7 separate regions of the Homo sapiens genome follow, and all the other regions are linked to region 1. The links are contacts of gene promoters, found by promoter capture Hi-C in blood cells and fetal thymus (Javierre and others, 2016). All regions are on one chromosome and are shown on one strand. The core of a region is centred on a gene start or on the middle of the fragment in contact, and the rest is flanking DNA. Distances in the headings are between cores, read along the strand shown. Region 1 holds the start of RNPC3 (RNA binding region (RNP1, RRM) containing 3). Region 2 holds the start of GPR88 (G protein-coupled receptor 88). Region 3 has its middle 31 kb from the start of EXTL2. Region 4 overlaps EXTL2 (exostosin like glycosyltransferase 2). Region 5 overlaps SLC30A7 (solute carrier family 30 member 7). Region 6 has its middle 39 kb from the start of LINC01307. Region 7 overlaps LOC102723784 (a long non-coding RNA gene).

Region 1 (4,005 bases), core at 788-3,287:
GCCCCATATATGTCTCTTCCAAAGCTGCCCACTCGGCTGAGGAGGATGACTTACCCCCATAAAGGAGGATGATTTTTCTGTAAGGGCATACGTGTAGCAGTGCTCCCTTGCTAGAAGCTCCAAACAAGTCTTCAAAGAACACACACAAAAAAGCCGCTGAAGGATAGTGTTTAAAATAGCATGACCACTCCAATCGGTTTATAACACTACCCTATTTTTTCCAAAGCACTTATTATTCTCTGAAAAGAACTTTATTTACATATTTATTCTGTCTTGATTTTAGAAAGTAAGCATTGAGAGGGCAGGAATTGATTGTCTTCTTCTTCTTCCTTGCCTCAACTTCTCAACATCTGCATGTCCCATGACTCCATTATGGGCACAATTCTATCTATACCCTTTGTCATTCTTCAGATATAAATACCATATAGGTTGATGCCATACCTCGTGGTAACCTTTCCCAAGAATGCCAAACACACACATTCAACTTCCTACTTGAAACAGGGATACTGAATAGATACCTTAAACTTAATATATGTTCCTCTATTCCCAATGTCCCACTACAGTTTCTAACCTAGCTATACTTGGTCAATCTTCTCACATTCAGTAAATGGCATCATCATCTACAGATGGATAATATCTAGCTTAAGCCAAAAATCCAGAATTTATCCTTGCTTACTATTCTTCATCTGCAAGTTCCTATCAACTACTTCTAAAACGTATCTCAATTCCAGTTCCTTCTCTACATGTCCACTTTCACCAAACTATTATGGTAGTGTTTTTCTCCAGACTTCTACAGTAGTCCAACTGGTCTTTCTGCTTCTGTTTTTTGCATTGCAACCGGAGAAATTTTCATACCTAAACTTTGATTCTCTCCCCTCAACACACACCTACTTAAAGAATTTGTCAGTTTCTAAATGTTCCTCAAATAAAAAGGGCTCCTAACAAATCTACAGCGTCTACGTGGTCTGGCTCTACCTATCTGATATTTTGGTGGGTGTGTGGGGAAGGTTCTTCTCATGTTTGTCTTCTAGTTTTCATTAATATCTGTCTCTCTCCTTTTCCCCAACCAATGCGGGATGACAGCAGATTGCTGGTATACTGCTTACTGCTGTATCTCTAACATTTATTTAAGTGGCAAAAAGAACTGTAAGAGGAACTCTGGTTCTCCAGACTGTAGCAGCTACATCTAGCATAAAACCTCTCTTTAGAATCCTCAAGGCCCTCTCTGTATGGGGTGAGGGGTACATTCCTGACCCTCCGGGGATGATCCCTGCCTCACTCCATTCAGAATCTAGGCAGAACAGTGGATTAGAATGTAGACCCCCAGTCAGAACACCAAGGGTCAAAACTTAGTTCTTCCACTTTCTAGCTGTGTGATTTAACCTCTTTGTACATCAGTGTCCTCAGCTGTAAAATAGGGAGAAAAGTACCTACACCTACACACACACACACATACACACACACACACACACACACCCCTACACACACACACATACACACACATGCAATAATTTATTTATTAGGTTACCTCTCCCTAGAGGCTGCCATTTCTGCGAAATGAACCCTGGCAGGGGCCTATCCGTCTGCTAAATGCCTACTGATTCAAGAAAAAAGTCTGAACTCTCAACGTTTTGCCCCTTAAACTGAGTTCTCCTCCCTACAATGGTGTCTAATGAGTTGACAGAATAACTGGCTAGCTTTATATTTTACCATCTAAATACTGTAAGAACATACCCGGTATTTCCACACCCAAGTTCTCCTCCTTGCTATTCAGGCCAATTCACTTTCCCAAGGCCAGGGATTAAGAGCCGCACGGTCAGCTCCAGATAGCGCTCGCCGCCGTGCGCCCCGCCCCGCCGTGCGCCCCGCCCCGCCGTGCGCCCCGCCCCGCCGTGCGCCCCGCCCCGCCGTGCGCCCCGCCCCGCCGTGCGCCCCGCCCCGCCGTGCGCCCCGCCCCGCCGTGCGCCCCGCCCCGCCGTGCGCCCCGCCCCGCCGTGCGCCCCGCCCCGCCCTGTGACGGTCCCAGCCCGCACATGCGCAGTCGTGAGTCCTCTTGTCCTTGAGCGTCAACCTTCTTTCCCTGAAGTGGCTGGGGTTCCTGTTTCCTTCTTTGATTGACAACTTGTGTTAACCCTCGCACATCTCTGGGCCAATTTTTGCTTGTAAGTCTTTCCGGAGACCCCTGGAATTTAAATCATTAGCACCGCGCCCTTCCCCGAAGAGTCTTCGAAGGGTTGCCGCTTTTCGGTGGCGCAGTTCTCGCGAGAAGGTGACTTTCTTTCTCGGTATTTCCTGGTTTCCAGAATCCTTAGCGCGAGGCGGAAAAAATATTTCTCCCAGCTTGTGTTGATGCCGCGATTTTGACTGAGACTTCTTCCCACGATTTCTGTTTTTGCTTCTCCAAGGAAAATGGCAGCTCCCGAGCAGCCGCTTGCGATATCAAGGGGATGCACGAGCTCCTCCTCGCTTTCCCCGCCTCGGGGCGACCGAACCCTTCTGGTCAGGCACCTGCCGGCTGAGCTTACTGCTGAGGAGAAAGAGGACTTGCTGAAGTACTTCGGGGCTCAGTCTGTGCGGGTCCTGTCAGATAAGGGGCGACTGGTAAGGGCGCGCCCCTCCGGAGTCTCCCGGGAAGGCATTTGGGAAGTGACCGGGGAGGGGGAGCGCTGACAAGAGTAAAATGGAAACGAGTGGGGAAGATGGACTTGTGTGATGAGAGCTCCCCCATCCTACCTCTTTTTTATCAAAATATCTGCTCTGCGAAGTGGAGTTTTAATCGGCTCGAGTCTGGATTAGTCATAGCACTGCAGAAAAGGGCAAGTGAGAACGACAAAGCAGAAGAATGGAAATTAGCTTAGTTATATTGAGTTTTCGGATCCATCCTGAGAGCCTCACAACTTTTTTGAATTTGGGGTTATTTCTCCTGGACTCAAGAGTATTCTTACAAATGTGCATCAAGGGATTTTTTAAAGTCCTACTTCATTTATAAGCCAATGTTAAATCGTTCATTAAAATAGAGGAGAAGCTACATTGGTGACTTGCGTAAATTAAATGCAGAATTTCAACTAGAAAAAGAGGCTTTTCATAAAAATTTCCCGATGACATCTTTTAGGGAACAATTTTTTAGGGCTGTTAAGAGTACCTGTGTAGGAATTTACACAATTACTTTGTTTTGCTTTATATCCAAAGATATTTTAGATTTCTCTTCATTAAAATAGGAATAGCGATGGTGCAAGACTCAGTGGTTTTAAAGTTTCCCTAGGTGATTTTAATGTTAATGTGCAGCCCAAGTTGAGAGTTACTGAATTAGAAGAAAGACCAATTTTGATCAGTTTAAATGTCACTTATGCCTGCAAATTAAAAAAAAAAAATTATATATGGCTCAATTTAAGTACATCAGGTCATCGTGTATCAGATTAGACAAAATTAGAATGTGCGATATAATTATTAAAGTAACTTTTAATAAGCATTGACCAGAGCTCTTCCTTAGCATAGTGATTCTTTTACTGTTGATTTGTGTTTCTTTTCTGATGGTTTTTAAAATCCGTATAATTTATGTTTAAAAATAGACTTCTCCCATTGAACATTATTACAAAGATAAAGCACAAAGGAAATATGCACCTTGAAGAACGATTTCTCTGTTGGTGAATGTTTTTAAACTACGCATTGTTATGTATAGAGGAAAGTTTAAAATCTTTAGATCTGTCATAAATGAAGGAAATAAATTTTTAGTTGGTTAAAAGTGACCCTCTGTGTAGAACAGGTCTTTAAACTTTTGGTCTTTTGAACTATTTGCATGTGTAAAACGTGTGTCTTTATATGATAGAGGTTGCATAGCTTTCATCTCAAGTCTGACTCAAAAAGTATTGAAAACCACTGGACTGAAATTAGTAATCAGTTAAATGGTCTTGAGTTTTCATCCTTTCCCGTGATTTTATTAACATGTCACATTACTCCACTGGTAAAAAGTCAGATTTCTTTGTGAGAAACTGAAATTATATTGGA
Region 2 (4,005 bases), core at 784-3,283, 3.0 Mb before region 1:
TGGGCCAGAACTACAATGCATGTTACAGAGAAGAGGTATACGCCATGTGTCATAACTAGAAAGGAGAAATGCAGGCTTGCTGTGCTTAATGCACTCAAAACCTCAATAAGGACAAATGGCAATAGGCAAAAAGATGATGACAAATACTCATCTCATTTACATCAGTAAACTTGATATCGAAACCTTCAACCCTCTGAATAGCAAGTCACTGGTTCTTTTCTTTCACTTCCCCCTCCGGCCCCTGCCCCTGCCCCAACCAATTTCATTCAGATATAGCTTAGCTGGACCAAATCTATCAAGTCATGCTTATCCTTAATCCTCATCAGAGTTCTTGAAGTCATCAACTAACCATATTGATTTTGAAATAGAAAAAGAAAAGCAGAGAAGCTGTGTTTTGACCTCTCTCCTGAAACATTGCTCTTAGGGACATATGACCCAGAACTACAACTGCAATGCATGTTAGATAGAAGAGGTATATGCCATGTGTCATAATTAGAGAGAAGAAATGCTAAATTCATGAATAGGGATTCACAGAAAGTTTTAACAGAAAGGGCCTTTGAAGTGACTGACTGTGAACTTATTTGACAAGATGAAAATAATCCATCGCAAGGCTACATGATGGATGCTCGGCTTAGTATCTGGGTGTGCTGCAACCCCACCTAACATTTTTTTCTATTATGCCATGTTACCATATTCCCATATTGAGTTACATTTTCAAATACATGACTTTTCCAGTGAATAATTGAGAGAACTCCTTTTCTGAAAAAATTCCCACATGGAATGGATAAATGAACACTTGCACCAAAGAAGATGCCAACATCAGACTGCAAATCTCCAAGACAGACAAGACAAAAAGTTCTGAAGTGAAAAGTCATCTTTGTTCACACTGTGGATTATTCAGGTTTCTTGCTTTCCCCCTGACACACATTTTTTTAAAATTGACTTTATTTTTTTAGAGCAATTTTAGATTCATGGCAAATTTGAGTGAAAGATACAGAGATTTCCCATGTACTCCCTGCCCCTCGCATACATAGCCTCTCCCATTATCAAAATCCCCCACCAGAGTGGTTCGTCTGTTACAATTGAATGTACGTTGACACATCATTCCCCAAAGTCCATGGCTTACACTGATGTTTCACATTCTGCCACTTTGGGCAAATTTATAAGTACACAGATCCACTATTATGGTATCATACAGAGTAGTTCCACTGTCCTAAGAATCTTCCGTGATCATCTATTCATTCCTCCTTTCCCCCTAACTCGGGCAACCACTGGTCTTTTTAACTGTCTCCATAGTTTTGCCTTCTCAAGAATGTCATAGTTGGTAGCATACAGTATGTAGTCCTTTCCAGTTGGCTTCTGTCACTTAGTGATACACACTTAAGGTTCCTTCATGTCTTTTCATGGCTGGACAGCTCATTTCTTTTTAGCACTGAATAATATTCCATTGTCTAGATGTACCACTGACATCTGCTTTAAATCTTTTGCCCATTTCATTTTTACCCTCTAACCATTTCATTACTAAAACACAAAACAAACTCCGGAAAGGAGTTTGTTGATGAGAAAACACTGAAAGTACGATTTAAATTGAGGAATGGAGATTTTCTGTGGATAATTGTCTATGTTCCACTTTACCAAAGAAAAATGAATTTCAAGTAGTGCATAAAGTAATTCTCGTTAAAAAATGTGGGAATAAAGAGATCAGTCCTGGGTACTGGGAATATATTTATCTCACAGAAAAATCTTGCCCACAAAATGCATCAGACTGAGATGAAATACTCTAGGGTATATTAAATTTTATTCTAATATTGAAGGGAGGGAAAAAAAGGACGGAAAGAAAAATGAAACAGGATGAAAAATAAGGTGATTGGGAGAGAGAAAAGACAGAGAAACTTGTTAACGACAGGACTTTCTGAGCAAGATATTTTTCTTCCTTTTACAAGTTGGAAGCTATTGAATAATTCATGCCAAGCGTGGAAAGGCTGTCTTTTCCCTGGATGATGTATAACTAAGCAGGAGAGAGCTTCGAGTGGGTTCACCACATCAGCCACCACTCCTGCTTCTGAGCACAGGGTGCTCTCCTCTTGAGCTCAGCTTCTGCTTTTGCAGCCAAGCATTCTTGCTGCTGCTGCCTGCCTGCCCACCCGCCTGGGCTTGCAGCCCGCCACTTTACTTTCTCCAGCCCTGATACCAGCTGAGAAGTCTCCCTGCAGCTGCTAGTTCCTGCCCAGGACCATGTGTGTGGATGCTGCTTGGGAGAAGCGGGCACTTGCTCCTGGCACTGATCCCAGCTGAGTTTCTCCTGTTGATTTCTGGACCACTGATGCTGTTGCTGAGGAGGTATTTCCCGGCATCCCTCCCCCTGAGACACCGGCTAAGGACCAGCCTAAACGCAAGGTAACCTTCACCTCTTTCCCATGGGATTTTCCCCAGCTGGGATATCTCTGCTTTCTCCTGGAACTAGGTCCTCCAGCTGGCAACATATCTCTCTCTCTCTCTCTCTCTCTCTCTCTCTCTCTCTCTCTGTGTGTGTGTGTGTGTGTTGGGGGAGAAGAGGAGACTGTTTTAGGTATTGCTCTGTCCTAGGGCTTCCCCGATACCTGCTGAATCCAATGCAAAGTGGCCTTTCCCCTGGCTCTGGAGACATTTCCGAGGCAGGCACCTGTCATCTGCCACCCCCGTCCTCCTCCTCGAGCTCCCTTTCTCCCCCTCCCCCAGCCCATTATTCTGCTTCAGCCTTTTGTGTCAGTGGCAGAGGGCTGAAGGGATGTCTTTGCCCTTCTGGCAGGCAGGACAGTGTCAGGATGGACCGCGCTGCCAGAAGCCGACGCTAGCGAGGGAGGTGTGAAGAGTTGGCCAGAATGACCAACTCCTCCTCCACATCCACCTCCTCCACCACCGGTGGCTCGCTGCTGCTGCTCTGCGAGGAAGAGGAGTCGTGGGCGGGCCGGCGCATCCCGGTGTCACTCCTGTATTCGGGCCTGGCCATCGGGGGCACGCTGGCCAACGGCATGGTCATCTATCTCGTGTCGTCCTTCCGAAAGCTGCAGACCACCAGCAACGCCTTCATCGTGAACGGCTGCGCCGCCGACCTCAGCGTCTGCGCCCTCTGGATGCCGCAGGAGGCGGTGCTCGGGCTCCTGCCCACCGGCTCTGCGGAGCCCCCCGCAGACTGGGACGGCGCTGGGGGCAGCTACCGCCTGCTACGGGGTGGGCTGCTGGGCCTCGGACTCACGGTGTCCCTCCTCTCCCACTGCCTCGTGGCCCTGAACCGCTACCTGCTCATCACCCGGGCGCCCGCCACCTACCAGGCGCTGTACCAGAGGCGCCACACGGCGGGCATGCTGGCGCTGTCCTGGGCGCTCGCCCTGGGCCTCGTGCTGCTGCTCCCGCCCTGGGCACCGCGGCCCGGCGCCGCGCCACCGCGAGTCCACTACCCGGCGCTGCTGGCCGCCGCGGCGCTGCTGGCGCAGACAGCTCTGCTGCTGCACTGCTACCTGGGCATCGTGCGCCGCGTGCGTGTCAGCGTCAAGCGGGTCAGCGTGCTCAACTTCCACCTGCTGCACCAGTTGCCCGGCTGCGCCGCCGCCGCCGCCGCCTTCCCGGGCGCCCAGCACGCGCCGGGCCCCGGTGGCGCCGCGCACCCGGCGCAGGCCCAGCCCCTGCCGCCCGCGCTGCACCCGCGGCGGGCACAGCGGCGTCTCAGCGGCCTGTCGGTGCTGCTGCTCTGCTGCGTCTTCCTGCTGGCCACGCAGCCACTGGTGTGGGTGAGCCTGGCCAGCGGCTTCTCGCTGCCGGTGCCCTGGGGAGTGCAGGCGGCCAGCTGGCTCCTGTGCTGCGCCCTGTCCGCGCTCAATCCGCTGCTCTACACGTGGAGGAACGAGGAGTTCCGCCGCTCCGTGCGCTCAGTCCTGCCGGGCGTCGGCGACGCGGCGGCCGCTGCCGTTGCCGCCACAGCCGTGCCCGCAGTGTCCCAGGCGCAACTGGGCACCCGCGCCGCGGGCC
Region 3 (4,005 bases), core at 1,091-3,590, 2.7 Mb before region 1:
GAATCCAGAAATTGTGCTGACTGGACTCACTTTAAATTTGTAACTACAAATCTCAAATGACTCAAAATAGTCCCAGATTATTCTATCTCATTGCCCTGGTAACTTCATTTTCCTCCTTTCCAAGAGAGCTATTTCACAATGTTCTCTTCTCTCAAATCCCCATACCTCCCACATACACACACACTCACACTCAACTGATACTCATACTCAGACTTTCGTCATAGACAATAAATGTCAACATGCAAAATGCCCTCTTTCTCATCACAAAATCCACTTGCCTTCCTACATCCTTGTTTATGAACTTTGTCTTCCCTCCTTTTTCAGGAAAACAGAGTTCCTGCCCCTTTGGCCACCCTCCCCTGCACCTGGAACATATCCTCTCGGGCCTTCCCAGGCACCGCACTTCTGTACTCATGTACGGGCTTCTTCTGTTCACTAGAACTTCAATTCTGGAGTGTCCCAGGCTCTGCCCAGCCCTCTCTCCTTCTCTATTTATGCTATCCCCCTAAATGATTCGACCAACTCTGAGGGCTCTTAATATCATCTATGCTTTAATGATTGATCTCCAGTCTTCCTCATTTCAGTAAATATTACCAACATCTACCCCATGTCTTCAGCGAAAAACCCAGGAGCCCACATCTAATCTGTTCAACAAGTCTTGTATGTCTTACTGGCTAACTCCAAACATACCTTAAGTCTAACTACTTCTGACAAACTTCATTACTACCACCATGGTCCCAACTACCATTATTTCTCTCTAGATCAGGGTTTCTCAGTCTTGGCATTATTGACATTTTGACCAAGTGATTCTTTGTTCTGAGGGCTGTCCTGTGCACTGTAGGCTGTTCAGCAGCAGCCCTTCTCTCTACCCACCAGATGCTAGTCACATTCCCACTACACAGTTATGAACACCAAAAATCTCTCCAGACGTGGCCAAATGTCCCTTATGGGGCTTGGGGGGGTCGAAATCACTCCCAGTTGAGAACCACTTCTCTGAATTAGTGCCAGCAATCTCTTAATTTGTCCCCCTGTCCCACTCTTGCCCTTCTAAAATCTACATCCTATACAGCATCCAGAGTGATCTTATTAAGCATATGAATCGTCATATCCCATCCCCGGTGAAAACATTTCAGAGGCTTCCTTTGTACTTAGTCCACAGCTCAAGATTCTGGCATTATTTCCTTCTACTCTCACCTTCAGTTACTGCTCTGCAGTCCTCTGGCATTCTTGTCATCCCCCAAACTTGCCAAGTTTATTCCTATATTGGGGCCTTTGCCCCTGATGTTCTCTCTGCCTGAAATTCTCTTCCCACAGAGCATGCCTTAACAACTCATCATTCAAACCACACCTCACATCCTCCTCCAGCTTTTCCTGAACCACCAGTGAAAGAAGTCTCCTATAGCTACTCTCCATCACATTACTCTATTTTCTTTATCGGGGCCAGAGATTATATCACGTATTTTCACCAACTTATTGTCCTCCTGTGAAAATATTTACTCCATGAGAGGAGGGGCTTTATTTGGACTTGTTTGCCTTTTGCCACTTTAACATTAATTTCCTGAAAAGTGCCTGACCAAAACAAGGATCTGGAAAATATGAACCAATATATTTTTGTCTGATTAATTAGCTGATTAAACACCTATGTGATTCAGCTTTGGGGTTTGGGGGCTGTGGCTAGAAAAATAAATAATAAGACACGGCTCCTGCCCTCAAGGAGTTAGATCCAATGGAGGTTTTGGAGAAGTAAAAAGGAAATTACAATATAGAATACGAAGTGCTACAATAGAGGGAAGCTTAACTCAGATCTAGGGCTTCAGAGACTTCCTAGGGAGGGTGACATGAGCAAATGCATCCAGAGGGGTGAGTGAGAGTTAGCTGGGTTAGTGGGTGCTAGAGTCTGAATTGTGTCCCCTCCCAAGTTCATATGTTGAAGCTCTAACTCCCAGTACCTCAGAATATTACTGTATTTGGAGATGGGGCCTTTAAAGAGGTAATTAACTTAAAATGAGGCTGTTAGGTTGAGCTCTAATCTAATCTGACTGATGTCTTTATTATAAGAAGAAGAAATGTGGATACTCAGAGAGACATCAGGGTTGTACACACAAAGGGAAGACCATGTAAGGCACAACAAGAAGGCAGCCATCTATAAGCCAAGGGGAGAGGACTGGAACGGATCTTCCCTCATAGCTCTCAGAAGAAACTGCCCCTGCTGACGCCTTGATCTTAGACTTCCAGCCTCCAGAACTGTGAGAAAATAAATGTCTGTTGTTTAAGCCACCCAGTCTGTGGTCCTTTTTAGGGTAGCCCTTGCAAATGAATACAGCAGAGTGGGAAACTGAGGTGTGTGGGTGGGGTGGGAAGCACCTGGGTGTGGAGCACAAGCTGTATGGTTGTTAGAGGGGAGGCTGGAGAGGTTGGGAGGTCTGAGCTCATTAGGCCTGACCAAATAAAGGCCAGGATAGGAGTGTGAGCACTATGGTGAAGATTCTCAAGAACACTGAAAAATCACAAGCAGCACAGTAAGGTGATCAGACTTGCCTCCGAGAAGAATTTTAGTGGTAGCGTGATGAGTAGAGTGTAGGTGAGGAACACCAGAGATCCTGAGAGCAACAAGGAAGCATGTAGCTTTGCAGTCCAACAGACTGAGGTTCCCATCCAGGCTCTGCCATTTAGAATCCCTATGACTTTGGACAAGTTCTTACCCCTCTTTGGCTTCTGTTTCCTCATTTGTAATTATAGGTATGATTCTTACCTCAGGGGATAATATGAGAATTAAATAAGACAGCATGTGTAAAATACTTGGCATAATACTTGACAAATTAGAAACAACGATTGCCGGTAGCTATTAGAATATCCAAGGCAGTAATAGTAGAGCTGGGAAAAAGGGACAAGCTTGAGCTATCTTAAAGATGAATAATCTTTAAAACTTGGCCATTGATTTTATGTTTGGTGGTGTGAGAGAAGATGAAGTAAAAAATAACATCTAGACTTTTGAGTCGGGCAGGTTTTGGATTGTAATGTCATTCACCAAAGTAGGAAATGAAAACAAAGAACCAGGGAGGGGAAGAGGATGAGTTTAATTTTGGATACGTTGAGTTTGAGGGATACTTGGTACATATCAGAAGAGTATCTCATAGAGAGTTGAATATAGAGATCTAGATTCAGGAAAGAGGCTTGGGCTAGAGACATAGACTAGATTGATAAAGCATTTCATTGAAAGTGTGCAGAGTGAGAAGAGAAGCAAAATAGAGGTAGAACTCCAGGGACATATCCACCATCAGAAGAAGAGAAGACAGGATAGGAGGCTAAAAAGGAGCCTACAAAGAGAAAGGAGAAAAAGAAAAAGTGAAGTCAAAGGGAGGAAAGACATTTGAAAAGAGAGTAGTTAACAGTGAAAAAGCCAAAGAGAAATCAAATAAGGTAAGAACCAAGCCATACCCACCAGACTGTGTAATGCCTAGATATCAGGCAAGACTTGGAAAAGGATGATTTTAGGGAGTGATAGGGATATAATCCCTATTGTAATGAGGTAAAGAAAAAATGAGAGGTGGGGAAGTGAATATTGTGAGCTTTATTGTTCCATTTTTATTTTATTTTATTATTTTAGAGATAAGGTCTTACTATGTTTCCCAGGCTGGTCTTGAACTCCTGGGCTCAAGTGATCCTCCTGCCTCAGCCTCCCAAAGTGCTGGGATTGTAGGCATGAGCCACCACACCTGGCCAATATTGTGAGTTTGAGAATGAGAGACAGAGAGAGAAAGAGAGAGAGAGAGAGAGAGAGAGAGAGAGAGAGAGAGAGAGAGAGAGAGAGAGATAAACTCTGTCTGTAGAAGAAAAATCCTTTTGTTCCCTCACCCTTCATAACTCCTTGTTTCCCACCATCCTAACCTGTATTCAGCCCAGGGGTTCTTAACCCTTAACCTTGGGTTCATAGATCCACCTCAAGTGGTTCACAAATAGAATTTAAGGGATCTATGTAATTTCAGAAAAAAATTACAACTTCAA
Region 4 (4,005 bases), core at 1,027-3,526, 2.6 Mb before region 1:
TTGTGTAATCAAATCCCTTGCTTATATGAGAAAAGGTTAAATCTCAGACAGTTTTATAGATGCCTAAAACTCTTATTCCCTGGATTCCAATAACATTTCATTTCCATGCTTGCTGACTCCTGCTGTAGTACTGTTGGCATTCAATTATTTCTGTTTTTCAATCTTCTGCTATTTCTGCTTCTGATTCCAGGCTACTTACTCTTCCACAGGCCACCAGAAGCATTTTAGGTATGGTCCTTGTTTTGTACTTTGGCAACTGAGTCTTCATAGCCATTTCAGCACATCATGGATCTATTTTACTACTCTATTCAAGTGCAAAGCCAGAAGTGAGGAAAATGAACTATTCAAAGAAATTTACTTATGAAAAGAAAGACTGGAAACAAAAACCAATCAGGAGTTTCTAAACAACATATTTAAAACACCTTTAGGAAAAAAATAGATCTCTGAGAAAGAATAGATGAGATGTTATTCTTGGTGACCTTAATTAACCCATAGTCTATCCCTTCTCATCCCCACTTCTGGTACAATTTCTCTTCTTGGCTATGATAAACAGTTACTCTCATCTATTGCTTAATACTGACAGATGTAATACAGCTGGATAAGACTTTTCACTGCTAACCACAGCTGAAGTATACTAACTGCAAAGAGCTACTGTCACTCTTCTTCTTGGTATAACACTGCCTCTGTACATTTTATTTTTGGTACTCCCCCTCTTCTTGGAAAAGTGAACTGTATGTATACTTACATAGTAATATTTAAGCTCTTGATTTCATGTCTTGTGGCTAAAGTCAGGCAATTGAAGCTAGGCCATCATTCCATAGGCAATCCTAAGACTGTAGTCTAAATTTAGTTTGGAATAGAATAGAATAGTTTTGGAATATTCTGTTCCAAACTAAATCTCATTTTACTTTCCTAATGATATCTACTCAACATTTTGTTTTTCACTGAGGAGACTTGGCAGTGGTTGGGTTAGTAACCATCATATTCCTGTAAGCTTGTTTCATGTTGTGGTGTGTGTTTTGTAATGGTAGAAAGTTTCCTCTCTATAGTTCAAGGACATAGAGAGATCATATATACCCCGTCTTTAACATTTTCCTTTGAAGTTTAAGTTTAGAGAATTGCAAAGAAGGACAAGAGCATACTCTCCATGATAGGACAGTATGCTCAGGCATGTGCAAGCAAAGGAAGAGTTTGTTCACAAAGACAAGGAGAAGATCATTGTCATTCAGCAGCTCTCACTTTTCAACAGTCCAGATTTGAAAAGTAATGTCACCTTTAGAGTAAGCTTTTGAGAGTGATTTCAAGGGTATCTCTCCTGGACTTTCTCTGCAGCTTGTTCTATTAAAAAGAGCAATTTTGTGTTTCTGCTTCTATCACGGCCTCACTCTTAAGGTATAAACAAATAAATTATTTTCAAGGTAACCTCAGCTTTTCCATGATTATTTTACAAGGATAATAACTTAAAGCTTTAGTGTACCATGTTTTCATTTTATCTACCCTCTTACTAAAACATGTAATGTTAATGTGGTCAAGGACAAATCATTACGAATTAACAATCTTGGTTCAAAGTCCTTGAAAATCCTTTTAATATTGAAGGAAAAGTAGGTCCCATAACACATATTTTCAGTTCTACATAAAAATGACTGGTTATAAGTACTGAGAATAAACAATCACTTTGACTAACTGCATTATAGTATACCATGATTAAGATCTTTATATTCATTTTCTGCAGCTGAGTAGGAATAGCACATTTTAAAACTTACATAGAAGTGTTTCTGATCTCTAGACACTAATAACTTGCTATCTAGCAGTTTTAATCTAGAAAAAGTAATAAGATTAATTACTATAGCTTACTATAAATATACACCGTTGAAGACACTCATGAGTGACTGCTTCCTTCTCATGTATTCTTTTAAGTAGGAGTTTATCCCCTGTATCCATCACAGACATTTCCTTTCAGATAGCTCCTAATCCCCCAATTTTACCTGTATCAGAAAGGTTTCAGGAGATATGAATAATTTATGTCTTTAGAAACATAGTGTAAATATTTCATGAGGTATTTATTAAATAATGCAACCCAATAAAATTATGTAAATTTTAGTTTGCATAGTAAAGTACGAAAAGCAAGGACTTTATAGACTGTAGTGCAAGTGGCACACTGTACTTTGACAATAGCTGAGGTCTAGAACTCCATTGTAGGCCCATTAGAAACAGCTTCAGTACAATTTGGAGAATAATGATGACTTTATGGCTAGAAGGATTTCACAGTTTTTGGCGTTCTTCTGTTCTTCTTTTAGAGAAAGAACCTATCATCTAATTTGCAGCTTTGAGCTTTGAATGAGAGATATGAGAAAAAACACATCTGGATGACCTATGTCGTACTTGGGAAGAACTAAGAAGTAAACATAAGCACCTCAGTTCTCTTGCCCTCATTTCCTAAACTTTCCCTTTTAGGTTTTGGTTTTTCATTTTTTAAGTTATGTCTTTATATATTTGCTGACACCCTGCCTCATTCCAAAAAGGATCTGACAGCTCTTAGTCTATTCCCCTTCTGTCCTTCACCCATCCCCATGACTGCAGTAAATATAACTTTGATAAATACAGTAAATGCCAACAAAACAAAAATCCTTCCTCTTCTCCTCATGAACGAAAAAAATCCAAGATTTCCCCCAATGATATTTTCTGCACATTAATTCATTAGTTCTTTATAGGTAGAGAACACATCCTTTTAGTTATTTTGATACATTGTTACTTAGCGTCTTCTACACCAGAGGTCCCCAATCCCCAGGCTACACATCAGTACTGGTCTGCAGCCTGTTAGGAACTGGGCTGCACAGCAGGAGGTGAGCAATGGGTAAGCAAGCATTACCACCTGAGCTCCACCTCCTGTCAGATCAGCTGTGGCATTAGATTCTCACAAGCGTGCAAACCCTATTGTGAACTGTGCATGTGAGGGATCTAGGCTGCATGCTCCTTATGAGAATTTAATGCTTGATGATCTGAGGTGGAACAGTTTTATCCCAAAACCATCCCCCACCACCCATCCATGGAAAAATTGTCTTCCACAAAACAGGTCCCTGGTGCCAGAAAGCTTGGGGACCACTGCTGGGGACACCAAGGGTTTTCAACTAGAGATGATTTTGTCTTCCAAGGGACAGTTGGCAAAGTCTGGAGATATCTCTGATTGTCACAACTAGAGGGGAGATACTATTGCTATCTAGTGGGTAGATGTTAGGGATGCTGCTAAATATCCTGCGATGCACAGGACAGCCCCCCATGGCAAAGAATTATCTGACCTAACACGGCAATAATGCCAAGGTTGAGAAACCCTGATCTACATATAGGTTGCCTAATAAAACACACTTAAACATCATGATGAGGACTACTAGAGAGGTGGCTTCTGAAAATCCTACTGCCATTAGTTATACTCAAACAATAAAGGGCAAAGCCCTGTCTCTAAAACTGCCCCGGGAGGCCCAGCATGATGGCTCAAATCTGTAATCCCAGCACTTACGGGGGCAAAAGCAGGATTCTGCCTGAGCCCCAGAACTTGAGACCAGCCTGGGCAATGTCATGAGACCCCATTCCTACAAATAAATTAAAAAATCAGCCATCTGTAGTGGTGCATGCCTATAGTCCCAGCTACTTAGGAGGCTGAGGCAGGAGGATAGCTGGAGCCAAGACGTTGAGGCTGCTGCAGTGAGCTGTGATTGCATCACTGCACTCCTGCCTGGGGAACAGAGTGAGACTCTCATCTCATAAAAAAACAAAAAACAAAAAACACAACAAACCAACTAAAAAATACTGCCCCAATAATTACATAATTATATGACTTATTGCACAAACACAGAAACTCAGAGAGCTGAAAGAGACTTCAGGGTCCTCCTTAGCCAGTTTCCTTGTTTCACAGATAAACAACTCAAGGTCCGGGGATAAGGAACTTGCCTAAGGTCATGCAGCTGCATGTGGCTAATCAGCAGCAGAACCAAGAGAAGACTCTAAACC
Region 5 (4,005 bases), core at 747-3,246, 2.6 Mb before region 1:
TAACTAATTATATCTGCAATGAGTCCATTTCTAATAAAGTCACGTTCTCAGGTACTAGAGGTTAGGACTTCAACATATGAATTTGGGCGCAGGAACACAATTCAACCCATGACAGTGTTTTACTAAATAATAGTGAAATAGATAGTAAAATATAGATCAATAAATCAGTAAATGTTTGTTTATATTTATTTACAATGAATGCCCTGCCTTCTAAAACTGATTACAGTAATTTAAAATAAAAGCTATATATACTAATAAAACACATTAAGAAATAAAAACATTTAGAAACCATACCTAGGGAGGAAAAAATTAATCTATTAAATATATAGTCTAATTTAGCTCCCAAAATTGACTTTTAAATTTAGTTATAAAATTCCATAAAGTGAACACAACTCTATCATTTTATCAGAGTAGAAAGACAGTTTTCTGAAATCAAATTTTAACAGTATTTTGCCATATTAATCTTTTCTTGGGGGATCGAAAACAAAATCATAGACAATGTCTTTATTAATGGTTTTATCACAGTATAGAGAAATTCTTCACATGAGTCTTTCATACTTCAAAATAAAGTTAAATCATTATTTTCCATGTTACATAGATGTTATGGTTCAAGTGTGTAATTTTCGGTAATCTAACTATACAAGGACAAATCTTAAAATATTAAATCTAAGAGAATTGCATGAATAATATGCCCCTTACCTTGTCCTCATGTATCAGTTTTATTATTCTGCTTTATCATTTATTCACCAATTCTCATTCTGCTTTGAGTTAGATGTCAGATGAGATGGTTAAAGTACTATCTGCACTTAAACTTTCTAATATATCTATATTTCAGTGGAATAAATAAGGTTCATGATAAAAGTTTAAGACATTTTCTAAAATCTTTTGTAATGATTTGGCAGAGGTTTATAAATTATTGTGCTTTTTCTTGTTGGTAAATGATGTGCTTTGACTTAGTTTCTAATTATATAATTATTCCAAATTATGAGAAAAATTTAAAACCATGCTTTTTCTGTATGTGTGAAGAATGTTTTTGACTTTTAGTTTGTAGCACTTCCAACTGATGAAAACTCTAGCATCTAGCCAAATATTAAGAGGTATGGGTTGTGCTTGGGAACACCAGGTATTATAAGCATTAATAATAGTTAATAATTAATAATGTGATTTATTAATAATTAGCAATAGGAATATTAATGTGGTTTTAATGTGACAAGCATTGTGGTAAATGTTTCATATATATTAACTCAATTATTATAACAATTATGACACTTTTATACTATACTCTATTGAAGTGATGGCTAAATTGAGGCACAAAGAAGTTAAGTAACTTACTGGTCACGGAACTAGTAAATTTGGAGCTGGGATTTGAACCCAGGTACTCTGACTTCAGAAGCTTGTTTTTAAAGACTGAACTGATGATTGCTTTCAGAACATTTTTATTGACTTCTCTTCAAGTTCACGGATTTCTTTCCTCAGCTGTGTCCAGTCTGTGATAAGCCAATTGGAAGAATTCTTTATCGCTGATAACTTGTTTTTTGTTTCTAGTATTTCCATTTGATTGTTTTTTATATTTCCCACTTCTCTACCAAATTCCCCACTGGTTCATATTTTTTTGTCCACTTTTTCCATAGATCCTTTAACATATTAATTAGAGTTTATGATAGCTCCAGTATCTGGGTCAATATCTTGGTCTGGTTCTGTTAACTGCTTTCTCCACAGTGACTTCTTTTTTTTTTTGGCTCTTTGTGTATTTTGAAATTTTTTTTATCAAATATTGGACATTATGAGTAAAAAACAGTAGATACTGAGGTAATAGTATTTATGATCGGAAATAGGTATGCCTTGTCTGTCAGACCACTAGTTGGTTGGACTTTGTGCTTTTAGTAATCTCTGTATGGTGCCTGTGCCACAGAAGCTCTTTTCTTCATGCGCTTACTCCTGCCCAAGCTATAGACTGCTGTTGCTTGTTACTCAGTACCCAGTTTATGGTGAAGGCAGAGGGGTATTTGTTAACTTTAACCCAAAGCCTCTGTCTTTGGTAGATTCTGTAAGCCTCAACCTCAGGGGTATGATTTTGTCAACATTTTTACTCCTTCTCCTGTAATAGCCAAACTCTACTGTGTGTATGTTTATGGTCCTGGATGGAGACAACTTTCCTTCTCCATTCTCAGTGGTAGCAGAACGTCTGCTTTGTGTTGGTAGAGGATTTCCTTCCCTTCTTTTGGTGGCTTTTCTTAGTGGGTGCTTTAGTATGTATAATATTAATCTTTAAATTATCACAAATAATATGTCATTTCATGTATCTGATAAGAACCTTACAATAATACACTTTGATTTTCTTATTCCATTCTGTGTGCTATTATTGTCATACCTTAGGTTGTTGACAGTATTTTTTTTCTCTTTCAATACTTTAAAGGTGTTGCTCCATTGCATTCTGGCTTGAATAGTTTCTGAAGAAAAACATGCTATAAATTTTATCTTTATTTTTTTAATTTAATTTTTCTCTTTCTTCCCCTCTGGTTTTCAAAGATTTTTTTATTTCTCTTTGATGTTTAGTGGTTTGTGACGTGTGGAGGGTTTTTTCCTCGCTTGGGTTCATTAAGCTTCTTGGATCTGTGATTTATTTTCTTTTATGAATTTCAGAAAACTCTGAAACATTTTCTCTTTAAATACTTTTCCTATCCCTTTCTTTTTTTCTTTTCTGTTCCTGAGACTCTAAATACATGTATTTTAGTATGTTTGATACGTCCAGACAGGTTTGGGATGCTCTGCTTTTTTTGTTTGTCTGTTTGTTTCCACTCTCTTTTCTCTTTGTGTTGCACTTTGTTTAACTTCTTTTGACCTAACTGATTCTTTCTCTCTGTGTCCAGTCTGCTCAGAAGCCCATGACTGTTATTCCTCCATATTGTAATTTTTAAAAAATTATCATTTCCATTATATTCTTTTATAGTTTTTATCTGCAGAAATTATTCATTTGTTAATGAATTTTCTCTGACTTTATACCACATCCTTTGACATATTAATTGTATTTGTTGTTAAAGTCCTATCTAATAGTTCCAACATTGGGGCCATTTCTGGTTCTGTTGACTGTTGTAGCTCTTAACAATGAGTCTCTCTTTTTTTCTTTCTTGATTTTGTCATTGAGTGCTGGACATTCTGTTTAAAAGAATAATAGAGACTGTATATGTCCAGAAATGGGCACACCTATTTTTCTGTTTGGCCGTTAGTATGGGACTTTCGAAACTATTTGCTCAGTAGTCAAACTGGGGTTGAGCTGGGTTTTGTGTTTTGTTATTGCTGATTTCCACAAATCACAGTCTTTGAATTTTTCAGTGGTTCCTACTACTTTGTGATTAGTATTGGATTTGGAGTACTGCAGGATTTTTTCAGGGTTCTTGCTCCACTCTCAGCTTTTAGCAAGTTCTGCACATATCTCTTTGTGCTCTCACTGGTAGTTTGCTGTTCCTTATACTTTATTCAAGACTTGGTGGGGAGGGTGGGACTAGGTTCTCTTGTTGTATCCCTAGTCAGGCAAGCCTGTGCACCTCAGTGTCAGGGTGAGTATTAATGATCTTGCCGCTCTCCCTCTCTCCCAGCCTGTCCCCACTGTCCTCAGCCTGGTATCAAAAGGGTGGAGCAGGATACTCAACAAAAGCAGACCTTTGCTTTGTAAGATCCTGGGTGCAAGCAGGTATCAGCCTCGTCCCAGTAGTAGATGGCTTTTTTTTTCCTACCTCTCTTTCAGTGGCAGCTGACCTTTGCAAGTGACCAAGGAGTGGTCACATTCCTACCCCTCACCCAGCAGCAGATGGTTTTTGTTTCTACCTCTCTCGCAGCAGCTGGGCTTTTCCTTGTGCAGGAGGTACGAGGGTTTACTTTTTAGATATTTAAAACTTATCCTCAAAGCTATCTATATAGCATATTTAAATTGTTGTTTTAGATGGTTAATTCCTGATGAACAAAGGCTGAATCTTAGACTTTCAGAGAAAGATGCCTACTGTTTGG
Region 6 (4,005 bases), core at 586-3,085, 2.2 Mb before region 1:
TACATTCTGGCACAAGTTCTTTATCTCATAACAGATCAGGAAAAACAGTTGGAGGACAGACATTGGTCCAGAAGTTGGCATTTGCCCAAGGACAACACTTTTGAGTAACGCTGCTGAAGTTAACATCCCCTCTCCTTCTTACCCCTTGCTGTCATCAACTGTGGATAATTGTACCAGCCTCTCAGATGGTCTCTCTGCTTCCAGTATTTCTCCTCTAATGTATTCTCCGCTCTGTTGCCAGAGAAATCTTTCTTAAATGCAAACTTGTTTGTGACACTTGTGTACTTAAAACCCTTCAATGGCCCCCACTTTCTCCTAGATAAAGTCCAAACTCCTTCACAGGGGGCCTGGCTTTGCTGATCCTCGCCAGCTTTATTTCCTTCTAGGTTCCAGTTTTGCTGAGTCCCGAGTAGTTGCATACGTGAGCCACGTTCTCACATCACGACTTTGTATGTGCTGTTCTGCAGTCCCTGTTGCTCTCTGGCCCTCTTCTCTCCCTCCTCGCCCCGTCTCACACACAGGCATTCTCTTGGCCTGGCTAATCTCTACTGATCCTTTAAACAAGAACTTCCAAGGGATATGAGAATAGAGGTGGGATTTGTAAGATTTTATTGTTTCAGATTTAGAAGTTGGATAGGTGGAGAGGAGCAGGGAAGACCATGCAGTAGGGATTAGGGAGCAGAATTATGGAGATCATTTAGAAGGCTGTTGCCAGACCTGTGGTGAAAATTGCCTGGGAGTGAGGCAAGGAAAATAAGGGATGTGGTGTGGAGAAAAGCTTCCCCCTAAAGCAGTATTGGTGGCCCCTGGCAATCAATCACAGGTGGAGTGATTGATTCTGAGCAAAGAGGTAATGCAACATGGTAAACAGAGACAGTTCCTACAGACAGACTTTTCTGGGGTGCTTTGGCAGTGGCCAAAGGCCTTGGAAGACTTGGAAGAAGGACTTCCCACTTTGGCTGCTGAAGTACTCCTGTCTCTGAAGGGCTTGAAAGCACTACTATTAAGCAAGGAATGGCTACTGCTAGCCTGGGAAAATGGTGGTGGGCTTGGCAAGTTGCAGGAGGCAATTAAATTGTATCCATCCCCTCCTCCCACACGCTCTGAGTTTGGAGGCTGTGGACCGCAAGGATGTCAGCTCTAAAAACATTTGACAGCCCTGGGGAGAGTCTCTGGTTCTTCCTTATCCATGACAGGCAAGGCAGACCACAGGTCACAGTTTCTCCCTGGCCTCTGTTAGCCTCTGATAAGCAAAACCTTCGGTGGGGAGAAATTGTTCTACTTTTTTACTTACTCAGATATAGTGAAATGTGTGCTTTTTCCCACTTCTGGGAAGCTAAGATTTATTAGAATCTGCAGATTGCTTCCTTCAAGTAAACATTATATAAAAGGGTCCTAGTTTCCTAGTGGGAGTTTAGTTTGTAGGCTAGTTCTACAAAGAGATAAATAGGGGTTTGTCCATTGTGTGCTCTCCAAATGCTCTATAAAGATTAACTCATTAATCCTCAGCCTCCTTGTGAGGATTGTTATCCTTCTTTTTCAGCCGTGGAATTGGGACGAAGTGCTGCACGGAGGGGCCTTGCCCAAGGCTACGCAGCTGGTAGACGGGGAAATGAGGCGGTTGCCGGCCGCCTCGCAGGCAGCTTTCCCTGTGAGGAAGGAGGTGCCTCGGGCCTCTGAAGAGGTAGCTGGGATAGCCTGAAATGAGCTGCTGAAAGCCCACGCTTCAGAAAGACAAAAAGCAAGCAAAACACACTGATGTGGTTGACACTCGCTGAGGATGTGCGATAACACAGACAGTGCCCGGGTTGAAGTGGGCCTTCCAGAGTTCCGTGGCAGCCGTGAAAGGAAAGTTAAATGAATAATGGCAATAACATTGTAAAGGAATGCTTCAGTACCTGAAATGTAAAGTGCATGAATGCTTACCAAAATTTGTCGTATTGTTATACTATTGCCTTATGTTTGTACGGTGCTTTCCAGTTCTGAAAGTGCTTTCACATGTTAAATGATTTGCTCACAATAGTTTTTCAAAGCAAATAGGTAGATATGGGTGGAATGACGTCTCCCCCTTCCCAAATTCATGTGTTGAAACTCTAAGCCCCAGTACTTCAGAATGTGACTGTATTGGGACACAGGGCCTTTAAAGACTTGAACAAGCTAAAATAAGGCCCTTAGCGTGGCCCTAATTCAATCTGACCAGTCCTTAGCAGAAGAGGAAATGAGAACACACAGATAGACAGCAGAGGTGCCAACATAACAGAGGAAAGGCCACGTGAAGACACAGCAAGGAGGTGGCCGTCTCCAAGCCAAGGAGAGAGGAGAAACCAAACCCGCTGACACCTTGATCTTGGACTTCCAGCTTCCAGAGCTGCAAGAAATAAATTTCTGTTGTTTAAACCACTCAATCTGTCATCTTTTGTTATGGCAGCCCTAGCAAACTAATATAGTAGACCATTTTGGAACACCTTTAAACATGTTAGAAATACTCATTTCTAACTAGAAAATATTAGTCACATAACAATTAGTTACATAACTTCCATACTGTCTCAGTAATAATAATATTAAAGATGACTCACACCTACTGAGCCTTCACCGTGTGCCAGACACCATGTAAATGTCCTACTTCATTTAATCCTCATAAAATGCCTCCAAATAAACAAATAGGGAAGAAGAAATAGCTCTTCCTTACAGTAGAATTTCAGTTGATACATGTAGAAGGAATCAGAAAAATAGAAGATTAATATTTGGCAAATGCCATAGTAGTAATTGCTGTAGGCAAGCCCCATGGATGGATACTATAATTAGTTGGTGAAAGTATGAGAAATAGAATATTTGTATAGTCTCAAAGTATCTCCCTAAAAGATATTTACTAATTACAAAGGGAAAAAATAGTAAGCTTAACAGTGGAGAAACCCAACATACATCACTTTAACCAAGTGGTCAAGAATAACCTCATCAATAATAGGACATACCAAGATCATGTACCTCCAGATATGATGCACTGAGAAGGGCACAATATCCTATTTGTGCCATTCTTGCCAAAAATGCATAACTTCAATCTATTCATGAGAAAACCTGGGGGACATTTTGAAAATAACTGTCCTGGATTTTCCAAAACTATCACTGATTGAAGAAGATGAAGAAGATATAATAGCTAAATGCAATATGAGATCCTGGATTGGATCAAAAAAAAGAAATCTGTGGGAAAACTGGTGAAATTCAAACAAGGTCTGTAGATTTGGTTAATATTGTTGTATCAATGTCTATTTCCTGGTTTTGATAATTGCATTACATTTATGTAAGATACTAATATTTCAATAAACTGGGTGAAGTGTATATAGAAACTACAATTTTTGCAACTTTACTGTAAGTCTAAAGTTATTTCAAAGTAGAATTTCTTAAAAAAACCTTCATGTTCTAATGAGTGTACAGTTTCCGTTATGCAAGATGAATAAGTTTTAGAGATCTGCTGTGCAACATTAATGTATTGTGCACTTATGAATTTGTCAAGAGGGCAGATCTCATGGTAAGTACTCTTACCACAGTAAAAAACAAACAAATAAAAATCCCTTTTAACTAGGTGCTATTAATATTTTCTCAAGTAAGTTGGCTTACTCAGGGTGAGACAACTTGTTAAGGGTGGAGCAAAGCTATGTACTCAGGCTGTCTGACTCTAGAGCTTATCCTGTACCCTATGATATATCCTCTTAGTACTTTTAGGAGACAGTGGAATTGTTAGCTTAGTTTTAATTTTTCATAGACTTGTATTCCTTTAGTCCTATGTTATAAAAAGCTTTTTCTAAATCATCCTGCCTCCCTTTAGTCCATGTGGAGGAGATTCTGGCAGAGTTGTTGAGTCAGAAGAAATACAAGCATGAGTAGGACACTGTACTGGAAACCATTGCCCACACAAAGAAGTAGCCGACTTCTCTGCTCTCCTCAGGAACTTACAAAGAGCTGAGACAGACAAAAGACAACTAACAATACAGAGCAGAAAACAAGCAC
Region 7 (4,005 bases), core at 1,096-3,595, 2.2 Mb before region 1:
GTGACTCTATGTCAGAACTTGGATGGTCTGTGATAGAAAAGTCAGTTGTGTGTCTTTCTACACACAGAAATTATAGTTTTCTTCAGGGCAGAGACAATCTTATTTATCTTTGTATCTGTATTCCCACTGTGCCTTGCATGCAGTAGGCACATAATAAATGATCCTAGGGAATAATCTGAAAGGAGTGGGATGAGTTGCTCATATCAAGTATTACATAGTTTAAAGTTGTAGGTTTGAAAGTCAGTTTCAGCCCATGAGTAGTAGCTTCCAAAAAAGAAAACATCCTCTTATGAAGTTTAGGCAGCGGATGATACTCACTGAGGAAACCATGATTAAGTCTCAGGAAACAGAAATGCAAGATAAGACACAATCTGCTTAATGAATCCGGATGGGTGGGCCTGATATTAAAGGCTTCTGATGTCACGACCAACCTTAATCATAAACTACACTTTTGAATAACATCCTTCTACTTCTCCATCTTTATCCACTTAAAAAATTTTACCTTGATGTCCTCTTTCTCACACAAACTCTTGGACCTTGTGATATTTTATCAGTCTGTAGAAGAATCCATTCCTCAGATTTCCCAAAACTGGGTGAAAGATGTCCTCGTGGAGTCAAAAGAGACTTACATGATTCCGAATGGGATTCTAGTCTCAAATGGCAAATTTCTACCAACCATATTTTAAAAGGGCATGGATGAAAATAATTCAGTAAGCCTATAAATAGAAAATAAAATTAAGAAAATAAGTCAAATTGTTGCATACTTCCAAAACCAGCCTCCCTTCCCAGCGAGAAACCAGATTTGCTTGGTGTCATAAACTGCTTCCTGCTCTTCAGGGAGCTGCCATTTCCTTGGCTGTATCTACCCGCAAGTGTCAATTCCTGATAACTTTGCTAGAGTGTGATAATACAAAGCAGGGCTCTTTGAGAATTATTTTTAGGGTTTTTTTTTTTTTTTTTTGAGACAAGGTCTTGCTCAGGCTGGAATGCAGTGGCTCAATCATGGCTCAATGCAGCCTCGACTTCTTGGACTCAAGCAGTCTTCCCACCTCAGCCTCCCAAGTAGCTGGAACCACAGGTGTGTACCACCATGCCCAGCTAATTAAAAAGAATTGTTTTTGGTAGAGATGGGGTCTCCCTATGTTGCCTAGTCTTGTCTTGAACTCCTGGCCTCATGCCATCTTCCCACCTTGGCCCCCAAAGTGCTGGGATAACAGGCACGAGCCACCGTGTCCAGCCTCTAGGTATTTTTTGAACAAGGATGAAAAAGAATTAACAGGGTAGATGATTGGGGTGGGAGGGGAATCTTGAGTTAGCTGTGAGTGACCACTCTTCCTTATTTCTTCATATGCCTAGAGAAGGAGATCATTCATTCATTCAACAAACATTTACTGAGCTCTCCCTATTGCCAGAGACTGTCCAAGGTACTGAGGTTACATCAGTGAACAAAAGAGAAAGAAAATATAAATCCTTGCTTTTATGGAACTTATATTGTAGTGGGGGAAACTCCTCTTGTCATCTATTTCTTTCTCCCTCGTGATCAAAAGATAAGCTTGTCAGACAAACTGAAGAAAAGAAGAGAAGATTTATTTCTGTCTTTGCCTCTGCTTTTGCCGTCTTTCCTCTTGCCTCAGAAGTCCCAAGACTCCATGATTTTCATAGGGACTCCTGTAAATAAAGAAAGCTGAGAAAATAAATTCCCACTATTTGCAGTTTCATAGAAGGATGCCTAGAAGAGGCAGTACTAGCTCTTTCAGAGGGATAAACCTAAGTCATTATTTCTTGCCAGAACCAGACTCCTGTTTCCCACTTCTGCAGAAGACATTGTTTCATTGTTCCATCAGGCAGCTAGGTGTAAAATCCGGGGCTCATTGTTGATTTCTTTCTCTTTTCAACTTCAAATTAAATCACTGGTCAAGATCTGTGGATACTGTATCCAATGTCATTCTCTTCTCCCATTCCTTCCACCAAACAGTCTAATTTCTCACTTACACTATTGTGATAGTCACCTAACTCCTTTCTCTCTTTTCTCAAATTCAGCCTCCATAACATTGGATTTACCATCAAGGACCAGCTTTGATCATGTCACCTCCTTGCCTTTCAATAAGCTTCATTGGCTCCCCACTTTAAATATATTCTGATGTTCTTTCAGCTCTGCCCTAAAACATCCTTAACATTTTATCTACAACGTTTAGGTTTTTAAATTTATTATTTATTTACTTTTGAGATGGAGTCTCACTCTGTTGCCTAGGCTGGAGCGCAGTGGCACAATCTCGGCTCACTGTAACTTCCGCCCCCTGGTTTTGAGGGATTCTCCTGTCTCAGCCTCCTGAGTAGCTGGGACTACAGGTGTGCGCCAGCATGCCCAGCTAAATTTTGTATTTTTAGTAGAGACAGAGTTTCACCATGTTGGGTACGCTGGTCTCGAACTCCTGGCCTCAGGTGATCCGCCTGCTTCAGCCTCTCAAAATGCTGGGATTACAGGTGTGAGCCAACACGCCCGGGGCCAACTTTTTATTTATCCCAAGTTCCTGCCTGATATGACATATAGTGAGACGACATACTTTTCCTGGTATTTTCCCCAAGCTTTCCAACAGCTAAACCTTTACTCCCACTTTCCTTCCTTTTGGAATTCCCCATTCACATCACTCCCATTTGAAATTCCACACATGAGCTAAGATGAAGTCCAAACTTCACTTCCTTCCTGAAGTCTTTTCTGACCCCTTACTGAACTGCGTTTCTCCTTTAGCACTCAGTTTATCTTGCAAGGTGGTTAATGCTTGCAGTCTTTTGTTTCTCCTCTCCCCTACTAACAATCAGGTCATTGAGGCAGGTCGCTGACTTCTTCTTTGTGTTCCTCTTATGGCTTTACATATGGCAGGTGCTTTGCAAGTATTTGTTGAATTATGGAATCATGGGGATTGGAAGCACATGTGTGGGTCAGTGAGTGGGGGATGTGTGTTTTTTGTTTGGAGCCAGGTGGGCTATAGGGATGTGTATTTTTTGTCAGGAGTGCTTTAGAGGTCATTTTTTTTGGGCTTGGGGTCAGCCACATTTGATATGTTTCCATTGTAAAATGAGACAGAGAAGCCTAGGCCCATGAAGATGAGAGTGCTGTCTTTGGCTGTAACCCTGATTTATGAGAGGAGCTGACAAATAACTAGTGCTGAATAACGTTGCTTAACATTTCCCCCTGGAGTTGGCCAAAAGAGTAGTGGAGAGAGAGACAATTCCTGTTTATTGAGTGTCTAGAATGTGCAGTGCAGGCGTTGATTTTGCTTGGTTCTTTTGTTTTGCTTTTGTGTGTGTGTTGGGGGAGGACAGGGTCTCGCTCTGTCAACCAGGCTGGAGTGCAGTGGTGTGTTCATGGCTCATTGCAGCCTTGACCTCCCAAACTCAAGTCCTCTTCCCGCCTCAGACCCGCTGAGTAGCTGGGACTACAGGCATGCACCATCATACCCAGCTAATTTTTGTGTTTTTTTGTAGAGACAGGATTTCACCATATTACCCAGGCTGGTCTTTAACTCTTGGGCTCCAGTGACCCGCCTACCTCAGCCTTCCAGAGTGCTGGGATTACAGGTGTGAGCCACCGCACCCAGCCTTGTTTTTTTTTTGAGATGAAGTCTTGCTCTGTCACCCAGGCTGGAGTGCAGTAGCACAATCATAGCTCACTACAGCCTCAAACTCCTAGGCTCAAGTGATCCTCCCTTCTCAGCCTCCCAAGTAGCTGGGACTACAGGTGATGTCACCATGCCCAGCTAATTGACAAAAAATTTTTGTAGAGAAGTTATGTTCCTTAGGCTGGTCTCCAACTCCTGGCCTCAAGCAATCCTCCCACCTCAGCCTCCCAAAGCCCTGGGATTATAGGCATGAACCACTGCACCCAGCCCTGCTTGGTTCTTAATGTACAGTAAAAATGATAGCGAACACTTTGGGAGTGCTTAATATGTGTCAGGCACTGCTCTCAGCACTTTCCCTTTGTTAACTCATGTCATTCTTATAACA

Evidence for each region. The method cuts DNA at HindIII sites, captures the fragments that hold promoters and counts their contacts. A CHiCAGO score of 5 or more calls a contact.
Region 2: a contact is called between the fragment with the promoter of GPR88 here and the fragment with the promoter of RNPC3 in region 1, in 1 of 17 cell types (non-activated CD4 T cells). The highest score is 5.3, in non-activated CD4 T cells.
Region 3: a contact is called between a fragment that was not itself captured here and the fragment with the promoter of RNPC3 in region 1, in 1 of 17 cell types (activated CD4 T cells). The highest score is 5.9, in activated CD4 T cells.
Region 4: a contact is called between a fragment that was not itself captured here and the fragment with the promoter of RNPC3 in region 1, in 1 of 17 cell types (total CD4 T cells). The highest score is 5.8, in total CD4 T cells.
Region 5: a fragment that was not itself captured here is called in contact with the fragment with the promoter of RNPC3 in region 1 in 2 of 17 cell types (total CD4 T cells and neutrophils); the score reaches 9.6 in total CD4 T cells.
Region 6: a fragment that was not itself captured here is called in contact with the fragment with the promoter of RNPC3 in region 1 in 3 of 17 cell types (naive CD8 T cells, fetal thymus and total CD4 T cells); the score reaches 5.6 in naive CD8 T cells.
Region 7: a contact is called between a fragment that was not itself captured here and the fragment with the promoter of RNPC3 in region 1, in 1 of 17 cell types (naive CD4 T cells). The highest score is 7.7, in naive CD4 T cells.

What each region holds. Positions count from the first base shown.
Region 1 is chr1:103,523,662-103,527,666 of GRCh38, forward strand. RNPC3 (RNA binding region (RNP1, RRM) containing 3) reads left to right here and starts at 2,038. Exons shown (of 15, transcript NM_017619.4): 1 at 2,038-2,601. The coding sequence starts at 2,410. It overlaps RNPC3-DT (RNPC3 divergent transcript), which reads right to left and starts at 1,847. Exons shown (of 4, transcript NR_168321.1): 1 at 1,735-1,847. It also overlaps the pseudogene RN7SKP285. RefSeq lists a silencer at 1,830-1,929 and an enhancer at 2,250-2,489. The HindIII fragment of the contact is 7,657 bases long and covers 1-4,005 here.
Region 2 is chr1:100,536,106-100,540,110 of GRCh38, forward strand. It overlaps GPR88 (G protein-coupled receptor 88), which reads left to right and starts at 2,034. Exons shown (of 2, transcript NM_022049.3): 1 at 2,034-2,397; 2 at 2,789-4,005. The coding sequence starts at 2,862. RefSeq lists enhancers at 2,458-3,307, 2,756-3,155, 3,308-4,005 and a silencer at 3,426-3,595. The HindIII fragment of the contact is 8,214 bases long and covers 1-4,005 here.
Region 3 is chr1:100,861,415-100,865,419 of GRCh38, forward strand. No RefSeq gene overlaps it. Among named protein-coding and RNA genes, the nearest start is that of EXTL2, 31 kb to the right of the region's middle. The HindIII fragment of the contact is 1,099 bases long and covers 1,792-2,890 here.
Region 4 is chr1:100,879,067-100,883,071 of GRCh38, forward strand. The region is part of intron 2 of EXTL2 (exostosin like glycosyltransferase 2); the gene reads right to left. Among named protein-coding and RNA genes, the nearest start is that of EXTL2, 14 kb to the right of the region's middle. The HindIII fragment of the contact is 1,625 bases long and covers 1,465-3,089 here.
Region 5 is chr1:100,902,808-100,906,812 of GRCh38, forward strand. All of the region lies in intron 2 of SLC30A7 (solute carrier family 30 member 7), which reads left to right. Among named protein-coding and RNA genes, the nearest start is that of SLC30A7, 8.7 kb to the left of the region's middle. The HindIII fragment of the contact is 1,210 bases long and covers 1,392-2,601 here.
Region 6 is chr1:101,282,489-101,286,493 of GRCh38, forward strand. No RefSeq gene overlaps it. Among named protein-coding and RNA genes, the nearest start is that of LINC01307, 39 kb to the right of the region's middle. The HindIII fragment of the contact is 2,118 bases long and covers 777-2,894 here.
Region 7 is chr1:101,298,507-101,302,511 of GRCh38, forward strand. LOC102723784 (a long non-coding RNA gene) reads right to left here. Exons shown (of 6, transcript XR_947643.3): 5 at 503-716. Among named protein-coding and RNA genes, the nearest start is that of LINC01307, 23 kb to the right of the region's middle. The HindIII fragment of the contact is 478 bases long and covers 2,107-2,584 here.